Linked DNA regions of Homo sapiens: all the other regions are linked to region 3. Evidence: promoter capture Hi-C in human tissues and cell types (Jung and others, 2019). All regions are on one chromosome and are shown on one strand. The core of a region is centred on a gene start or on the middle of the fragment in contact, and the rest is flanking DNA. Distances in the headings are between cores, read along the strand shown. Region 1 has its middle 22 kb from the start of MLLT3. Region 2 overlaps MLLT3 (MLLT3 super elongation complex subunit). Region 3 holds the start of IFNB1 (interferon beta 1).

Region 1 (2,700 bases), core at 17-2,516, 430 kb after region 3:
AGGGTCCATGGATATTCTCCCTTTTTCTTAAAGTAACTTAAATAAGTTTTTCTTTCTTTTAACCAAAAGAGTCCTAATTCAAGAACTTGCCCCATCAGACATTAAAACAGCACATAAAACACAGTATTACTAGTGTAAATGTTTATGAGCATATCTTTGAAACAAAATAAATAGCCAGAAATATATACTATCTCTTACTTATAAAACTGATGTAAATAATAAAGTTGACATCACATTGCAATATGTAAAGGAAAAATCATTCAATACGTTGGTTAACTGTGAAAACTTAAGTTAAATTGTCAACTTGCAATATATACTAAAATAAATTCCAGATATTAAATGTGAAAAGTGTTCACTGTAAGACAAACCAATGACTACTAAAACATGTGCCTGAAATATGGCAAAAGTTTGCCAAAGTGCAGGTTAAAAAACTAGGAGTTTATTTAGGGAACTATTTACTTGTTCTTGAGCTGAAGGAATAATTGTCTAAGTATAAAATCAATGGCCTAAACCACAAAGGAATCAACATCGGATATTTGACTACATGAAAAATTCGAGTCTACACAACAGAAGCCATCAAAACATGAAAGGTAAATTATAAAGTAGAAAAATATTTCAATATATCTGACAAAAAGCATGTAGTAGTTTAAATCAATAATGAAAACACTGAAACTTCAATGGAAAAAAGTACAATGTGCAGACAAATCTCAGAAGCAGAAATATAAATACCAATAAATATGTGAAACAATTCACTTTTACTGCTATAATACAAAAAGTTAACAATTTCAATGATATATCATTTTATTCTACTAGAAAAGTTATGAAAATACAAAATTTAAGGCTGGTGAGGTTGTTTCAAAAATAAGCATGATCGTACACTCCTATTAAGAGTCTAAACCAGTATGTATTTTTTAGAAAGCAATTTGGCAACATATCAAGAACTTTGTAAAAGATCCATATTCTTTGACCCAGATTCCCATTCTAGAACCTTTAAAGGCATAAAATGTATCCCCTTTTCTCAGAAGTGTACATATGCAAGAAGCATAAAGCTGACAGCCAGAGGGAAAGAAGGCAGTAGGAAGAAAGAGGTGGCATTAAGATTCTGGTTGTAGTCACTGAAGGCCCTAAAACGGCCCTGGTTCTTCAGAATCTGTGAGCTATCTCAGAACCTTTCCAATAAATCCTCCCCTATGATCCCTTAGTCTCTGTCCCCTGCACAAAAAGATAATTGACTAACATAATGACCCTGGCCTGAAATGTGTATTCTTTCCTTTTGCTAGATTAACCTACTGTATAATTTTGGGTAAAAGGTGCTGATTGCTTTGATTCATTGCAGTTGGTTCTAGTCCAAGCTTAATTAGTTTGGAATTAAACTGGATCCAATACTAGCACCTTTTATAGTGTCTATTGAAATACAATATTAGAGCGATGAAATTCTTCTTGAATGAGAGGTGTTGGTGAGATTTTTAGCCAAGACAAAGTCATGTTTACTAGCTGGATTAGCCAGGGTTTCTAAAGGGACAGAACTACTAGGATATACGTATATATGAAGGGGAGTTTATTAGGAGAATTGACTCACACAATCGCAAGGCGAAGTCCCACAGTAGGCCATCTGCAAGCTGAGCAGCAAGGAAGCCAGTGCGAGTCCCCAAACCTCAGAAGTAGGGAAGCCGACAGTGCAGCCTTCAGTCTGTGGTTGAAGGCATGAGAGCCCCCAGCAAACCACCCATGTAAGTCCAAGAGTCCAAAAGTGAAGAACTTGGAGTCTGATGTTCAATGACAGGAAGCATCCAGCACGGGAGAAAGATGAAGACTGGAAGATTCAGCAAGTCTGCTGTTTACAACTTCTGCTTGGCGGCTGATTAGGTGGTGCCCGACCAGCTTGAGGGTGGATCTGCCTCTCCCAGTCCACTGACTCAAATGTTAATCCCCTTTGGCAACACCCTCAGAGACACATCAGGAACAATACTTTGCATCCTTCAATCCAATCAAGTTGACACTCAGTCTTAACATTCACACCAGCCAAAATAGATCAGAAACAAAAATTAGAAGAAATTTACTGGACTTAGCCTAATTAGTGAGATAGAGCTGCTTCGTGCGGTGCTGTGGTTAAGTGATTAGGTAACAATGATCCAAACACAATAAAATTCAACATCCTGAGGTGATGCCTTATGAATCCTTTCCTCCTTGAAAAGCCTGTAACACGGTGGACTACTCTTTTCTTGTCCTTTTCCCTAGCCTTCACAATTCCACACTCTCCTGATACTTCTCATTAGTCACATTCTCCCCTGGTTTTAATAATAGTTGGATTAGCTTGGATAAAGGCTAGAATGAGGTAACAAGAGACAAAAAATACTCAAATAAGATAAAGAGTTATTTCTCATGTAATATTTTGTGTATATTGTCCAGGAATAATATGGTGGCCCAGTAGGTTAGAGAACCTGAGGTCCTTTTAATGTATGACAGCCACTGGGTACGACCCTCATCCATGTGGTCAAAATGACCTCACTATCATATTTGCATTCAACCCCATGGGAAGCAGCGACATGCTTCTTTCCTACAAAAGGCATAATTGAGAAAGTGAAAACATCATTTCTAATAAATCCCACAAATGAGAACCTAATCATATGGCCACAATTAGCTGCACAGAGGCTGGGAAATGTAGTCTATATTTGGGGAATCGTGTGCCCAGCTAAAGCT
Region 2 (2,700 bases), core at 155-2,654, 460 kb after region 3:
TTATTTCCTATACTTAATGATTTTCTGTCTGCCCTGAGGGAACATGAGGGTGCTGCTCACATAGGCCACACCTGGGAGTTGTTGCTAGGCGTGGTAAGCTGCTTGATAGCAGTGATGACTTCTCAGAGGTCTCTGGTGAGAGATGTCTGCTTGTTGGTTGGATTCCTCAATTTTTATACTCAACTGTGGAGGTTCTCTATGCAGTCTATAAGCCATTGTTTTAAAATGTTTATTTTTGGATTTTTATTTGTATGCGTGCTTCCCATGATGTGACAAGTCCTGGGAAAAGTGCCAGCTTACATCACCCAGGAGAGACCTTGTCATACTGTAATTACACATGATTCAGATTGCAAGAGAAGGTTTCTCTGTTCATTGGGAATAGTTGTAAGTTCAAGCAACACCAAACATGCCACTTAATCCTGGGACTTATTTTTTGGCTTATAAAGTCTTTCAAAATGATAAGAATAAATATAGAATAAGAATGCCAAGAATTTGTATGTCTACTTCCAGTACCTTTTAAAGTGTTATGTTAGCTATATTGTAGATCTATAAGTGATAGAGTAAAATTCTACCAATTGGAAATTGGAGAAACTGAAAATATGAATTTGTGAGAAATCTGAGTTATAAGATCTTTAAAAGAAATGCTCATATTCTATAATAAATAAGCTGTGTTGGCTATAGTGACAATCTAAATCACTTTCACTGTATACAGTAGCTGCTAAACAGAGATGAGCCTTAGGACTGAGGATGAACTGCTCAGCCACAAAGATGAAAGAGTCCTTAGTTTTGTAAATCTTTGGTTTGGAAAAGTGAATTGATTTTCAGGTTGATTTCCTTTACTTCACAGTAATATTAGAATTTGTAGGAGAAAAAATTATAGTATTTTTAACTTGTTGCTTAATGAGAATTATGTATACCATTTCAGAATTGAGCTAATTGGATTTGAATTAATGAGGTTTTACTCTGTCACAAAGATGGGTGGGAGACCTTCAATTTAAAACTAATGGCACAAAATCTTAGAAAAGAGATTTTGATGAAATGGTGAAGCCTGGAATGTCTATTAGCCATGACAAAACAGGTAGGTCAGAGTATGATGCATTTTTAAACTATTTACCTGCAAAAAAAGACAATATCTTATTTATTAGTACCAAAGATTTGTACTAGTCTGATATGACTGAAATGAATAGTCACATTCAAAACATTTCTTTTAAAATATTAATGTTTTTGTTTTTAGTATGATGTGAATTTGAGTGAACTTTTTTTCCAGTTACAGCCATCCTTACTATTGCAATTTGTTTCACTGACATTTATGATATGAAATCTGTTGCTTATTATTTTATGGAAGCTAATTTGGCCACTGGTAGGATTTGATAGCTTTTTATTTGTAGCCTTAGTCCTTTGAGTGGGCAGATAAAGCTTAATAAATCCACTCTAACAATTTTCCTTTAAGTGTATGAGGCCAGCTTTACTGCATAGTTTTGATTTGTGTTAAATGGTCTTCTGAAATAATTTGGGTAAGTTTTTATCAAGGTAACTAATACTTGAGGGCTTACTAGCTGAAGACGTTGTGTGCATCTGGTATATTTTCTCTTCAGAGTCATTTAAAAGATATAAGGAACAAAATGAAGATGAGTGACTGTTCTGATAGATTCAGCGAGTGTTATTTGTGTAGGGTTCTGTATGAAATTTAGATGACCAGTGAGAACAGTTTTACTGCTGTGCATTTTGAAGCACATAAAGTATAATTTTCCAAGGCACTTAAAAGCTGAATTGTTGGTGGAAATCTCATATTCTGTGGGTGAGAATGTAAATCGGGCAGGGGTATTTTGGAGAACATTGGCAAGGTCTATTAAGATTTTTAATGTTTATACTGTTTAGCCTAGCAAATTTACTTCTAGGAATTTTCTGACAAATATGTTCTCACAAGTACACAAAGATACAGCATGTTTCTTGTGACTGTTTTTGTAATAGTCAAAATTTGGAAGAAAGCCATATAGGGGCCCTCAACTGGATACAATTAAATGATGATAATCTATAAAAAGAGGTATATCTATTTGTAGATGCAGGAAGATCTTCAAGAATAATTAAGTGAAATAAGGCAAGTTGCTAAATCATTGTGATCTCATTTTTTCAAAAAAGTGCTTGTGCAGATAAGTATACGTATGTCTATACAAGTGTATGTCTGTAAATAAGTAAATTTGCATTAGCGGGCATCAAACTCTTACTAGTAGTTTAGTAGCTACTTGTGGTGGTGATGGGAGGTTATTTTTGTAGTGTTTGATTTTTTTTTAAAGTTAACTCCGTATATTTAAAACATTCAATGAGCACACATAACTTTTTAAAACTGAAAAAGAATAAAAAACCAATATAGAATATTGTTTTAAAAATAGGGATTAGCATGTAGCTATCTAAAAGTTAAAGATCTAAAAGTGATCTTTAATATCTTGGGTAGATATTGTTGCTTAAAGATGGAGAGAATTTAGGGTTAGGAATTACAGACTTGTATTCAAATGTTGGTTTAAGAGACTCCTTGTATGGTTTTGGACAAGTTACTTCTGTGTCTCTTTTCTCATTTGCATTATGGAAATGATGATAAAATAGAACTATTACCTCATAAGTTGAGGTTGAAATGTAAATCAACTGTTTTCATACTTATTGGGCTTAAGATCCTTTTACACTTACAAATTGAAGAACGCATAG
Region 3 (2,700 bases), core at 74-2,573:
GCCATAGTAAATAACTAGTAACGGTATTGCAAGTTAAAGGAACAATCTCATTGCTTGAAATTTTAAATTTTGAAATACACTGCCAATTTTCATGGTCTCTCCTTGTAAGCTAGTTTGGGCTTTCTCACAGCATGACAGGCTCAGGGCAGTCAGACCATCCTGGCCAAAGAGCAGAGTGCCACAGACCACAACTGCTTCTAATCAGCCATCTTCCCAAAGCCTTCTCTTTTTTCTATTAATAACTTTGTATGAGATTCCATCTTAATACTTTTCTGTTGTTTGGTCTTGTAAGAGCTTATTTTTCCTGAACCAGGAAGTGGTTCAGGGCGGTTTTTCTAACTTCACAGAGCTCCCTCTTCTGTTAGCTTTTGTGAAATGGTCAAAAACATAGCAGCCTGCCTTCTGAGTTCTCCATCCCACCCTGGTTGGGCCTTCTCTATCCTTGTCTGTGTTGTTTATATCCTGCTGAAGTGTGATTCCACTTGTGGCAGTTTCTCCTCTGTGTAGGATCAAAAGGGCTGTGACTGGTTGGTTTGAAAATTTCTTATACCCTAGACTATTCCAGTGCCTTTCAGAAGTTTCCAAGGCCCTCTCACACTAATCTATTATCATATTGGGCAAAACTCCTTGCAGTTTCAGCTACTATTCCCTGATTGACTTTTCAGTAAATCTATCTCTCAGTCTTTCAGTATCCAAAGAAGATTGGTTCTAGGACCACCATCCCGCTGCCTCCACAGATACCAAAATCAGAGGATGCTCAATTCCCTCTTATAAAACGTTGCAGTATTTGCATATAATCTGCACATGTATTTCTGTATATTTTAAATCATCCCTAGATTACTTATAATACCTGATACAATATAAATGCTAAATAGCTGTAACACTGTATCTTTAAAATTTACATTATTTTTTGTTGTTGTATTATTATTTTTATTGTATTTTTAAAAAATATTTTCCATCTACAGTCAGTAGAATCCACGGATACAGAACCTATGGATAGGAAGGACCAACTGTATCTTTTAGTGTTTTGAGGTTCTTGAATTCTCAGGTCGTTTGCTTTCCTTTGCTTTCTCCCAAGTCTTGTTTTACAATTTGCTTTAGTCATTCACTGAAACTTTAAAAAACATTAGAAAACCTCACAGTTTGTAAATCTTTTTCCCTATTATATATATCATAAGATAGGAGCTTAAATAAAGAGTTTTAGAAACTACTAAAATGTAAATGACATAGGAAAACTGAAAGGGAGAAGTGAAAGTGGGAAATTCCTCTGAATAGAGAGAGGACCATCTCATATAAATAGGCCATACCCATGGAGAAAGGACATTCTAACTGCAACCTTTCGAAGCCTTTGCTCTGGCACAACAGGTAGTAGGCGACACTGTTCGTGTTGTCAACATGACCAACAAGTGTCTCCTCCAAATTGCTCTCCTGTTGTGCTTCTCCACTACAGCTCTTTCCATGAGCTACAACTTGCTTGGATTCCTACAAAGAAGCAGCAATTTTCAGTGTCAGAAGCTCCTGTGGCAATTGAATGGGAGGCTTGAATACTGCCTCAAGGACAGGATGAACTTTGACATCCCTGAGGAGATTAAGCAGCTGCAGCAGTTCCAGAAGGAGGACGCCGCATTGACCATCTATGAGATGCTCCAGAACATCTTTGCTATTTTCAGACAAGATTCATCTAGCACTGGCTGGAATGAGACTATTGTTGAGAACCTCCTGGCTAATGTCTATCATCAGATAAACCATCTGAAGACAGTCCTGGAAGAAAAACTGGAGAAAGAAGATTTCACCAGGGGAAAACTCATGAGCAGTCTGCACCTGAAAAGATATTATGGGAGGATTCTGCATTACCTGAAGGCCAAGGAGTACAGTCACTGTGCCTGGACCATAGTCAGAGTGGAAATCCTAAGGAACTTTTACTTCATTAACAGACTTACAGGTTACCTCCGAAACTGAAGATCTCCTAGCCTGTGCCTCTGGGACTGGACAATTGCTTCAAGCATTCTTCAACCAGCAGATGCTGTTTAAGTGACTGATGGCTAATGTACTGCATATGAAAGGACACTAGAAGATTTTGAAATTTTTATTAAATTATGAGTTATTTTTATTTATTTAAATTTTATTTTGGAAAATAAATTATTTTTGGTGCAAAAGTCAACATGGCAGTTTTAATTTCGATTTGATTTATATAACCATCCATATTATAAAATTGCCAAGTACCTATTAGTTGTTCTTTTTAAAATATACCTGCAAAGTAGTATACTTTCTGGCCCCTGCCTTTAAGGAATTTAAAATTCAAGAAAGCCATGTGGAATATATAAGGTAAGAGACAATAAGGGGACCTGAACCTTATGGGGGAATAAATATGGCATGAACTGCTGTGGGATTAAAAGAGAAAAGGAAAGCTGGAGGGTCTGGAACTAAACCTGGGGTTCCCATTCCTCCTACTGTGTGCTCCAGATTCTCTCATCATAAAGTTAGAATTGAGCTGGCCATCAGGAATAGCCAGAGGAATATGTCAGCTTTTGTGTTCTCCCTAACCTTCCCACGTTATTTGGGGGATACTTTGCTCCTCGAAAGATTTTTAAATAATTATGTGCCCCCCACCATCCCTGCAAGCTTAAGGGTGAGAAGTCCCATTTACTTCCATGACACTATTAAGCAGCAATCTCTTTATTCTGCTCATCATGGGACAGC

The links. Contacts are between HindIII fragments. The study calls those that stand out against the background at their distance.
Region 1: a contact is called between a fragment that was not itself captured here and the fragment with the promoter of IFNB1 in region 3, in 1 of the 25 tissues and cell types used here (lymphoblastoid cells).
Region 2: a fragment that was not itself captured here is called in contact with the fragment with the promoter of IFNB1 in region 3 in 1 of the 25 tissues and cell types used here (lymphoblastoid cells).

What each region holds. Positions count from the first base shown.
Region 1 is chr9:20,643,037-20,645,736 of GRCh38, reverse strand. No RefSeq gene overlaps it. Among named protein-coding and RNA genes, the nearest start is that of MLLT3, 22 kb to the right of the region's middle. The HindIII fragment of the contact is 3,855 bases long and covers 1-2,700 here.
Region 2 is chr9:20,616,079-20,618,778 of GRCh38, reverse strand. The region is part of intron 2 of MLLT3 (MLLT3 super elongation complex subunit); the gene reads left to right. Among named protein-coding and RNA genes, the nearest start is that of MLLT3, 5.1 kb to the left of the region's middle. The HindIII fragment of the contact is 4,882 bases long and covers 1-2,700 here.
Region 3 is chr9:21,076,565-21,079,264 of GRCh38, reverse strand. It overlaps IFNB1 (interferon beta 1), which reads left to right and starts at 1,323. Exons shown (of 1, transcript NM_002176.4): 1 at 1,323-2,161. The coding sequence starts at 1,396. The coding sequence ends at 1,959. The HindIII fragment of the contact is 10,658 bases long and covers 1-2,700 here.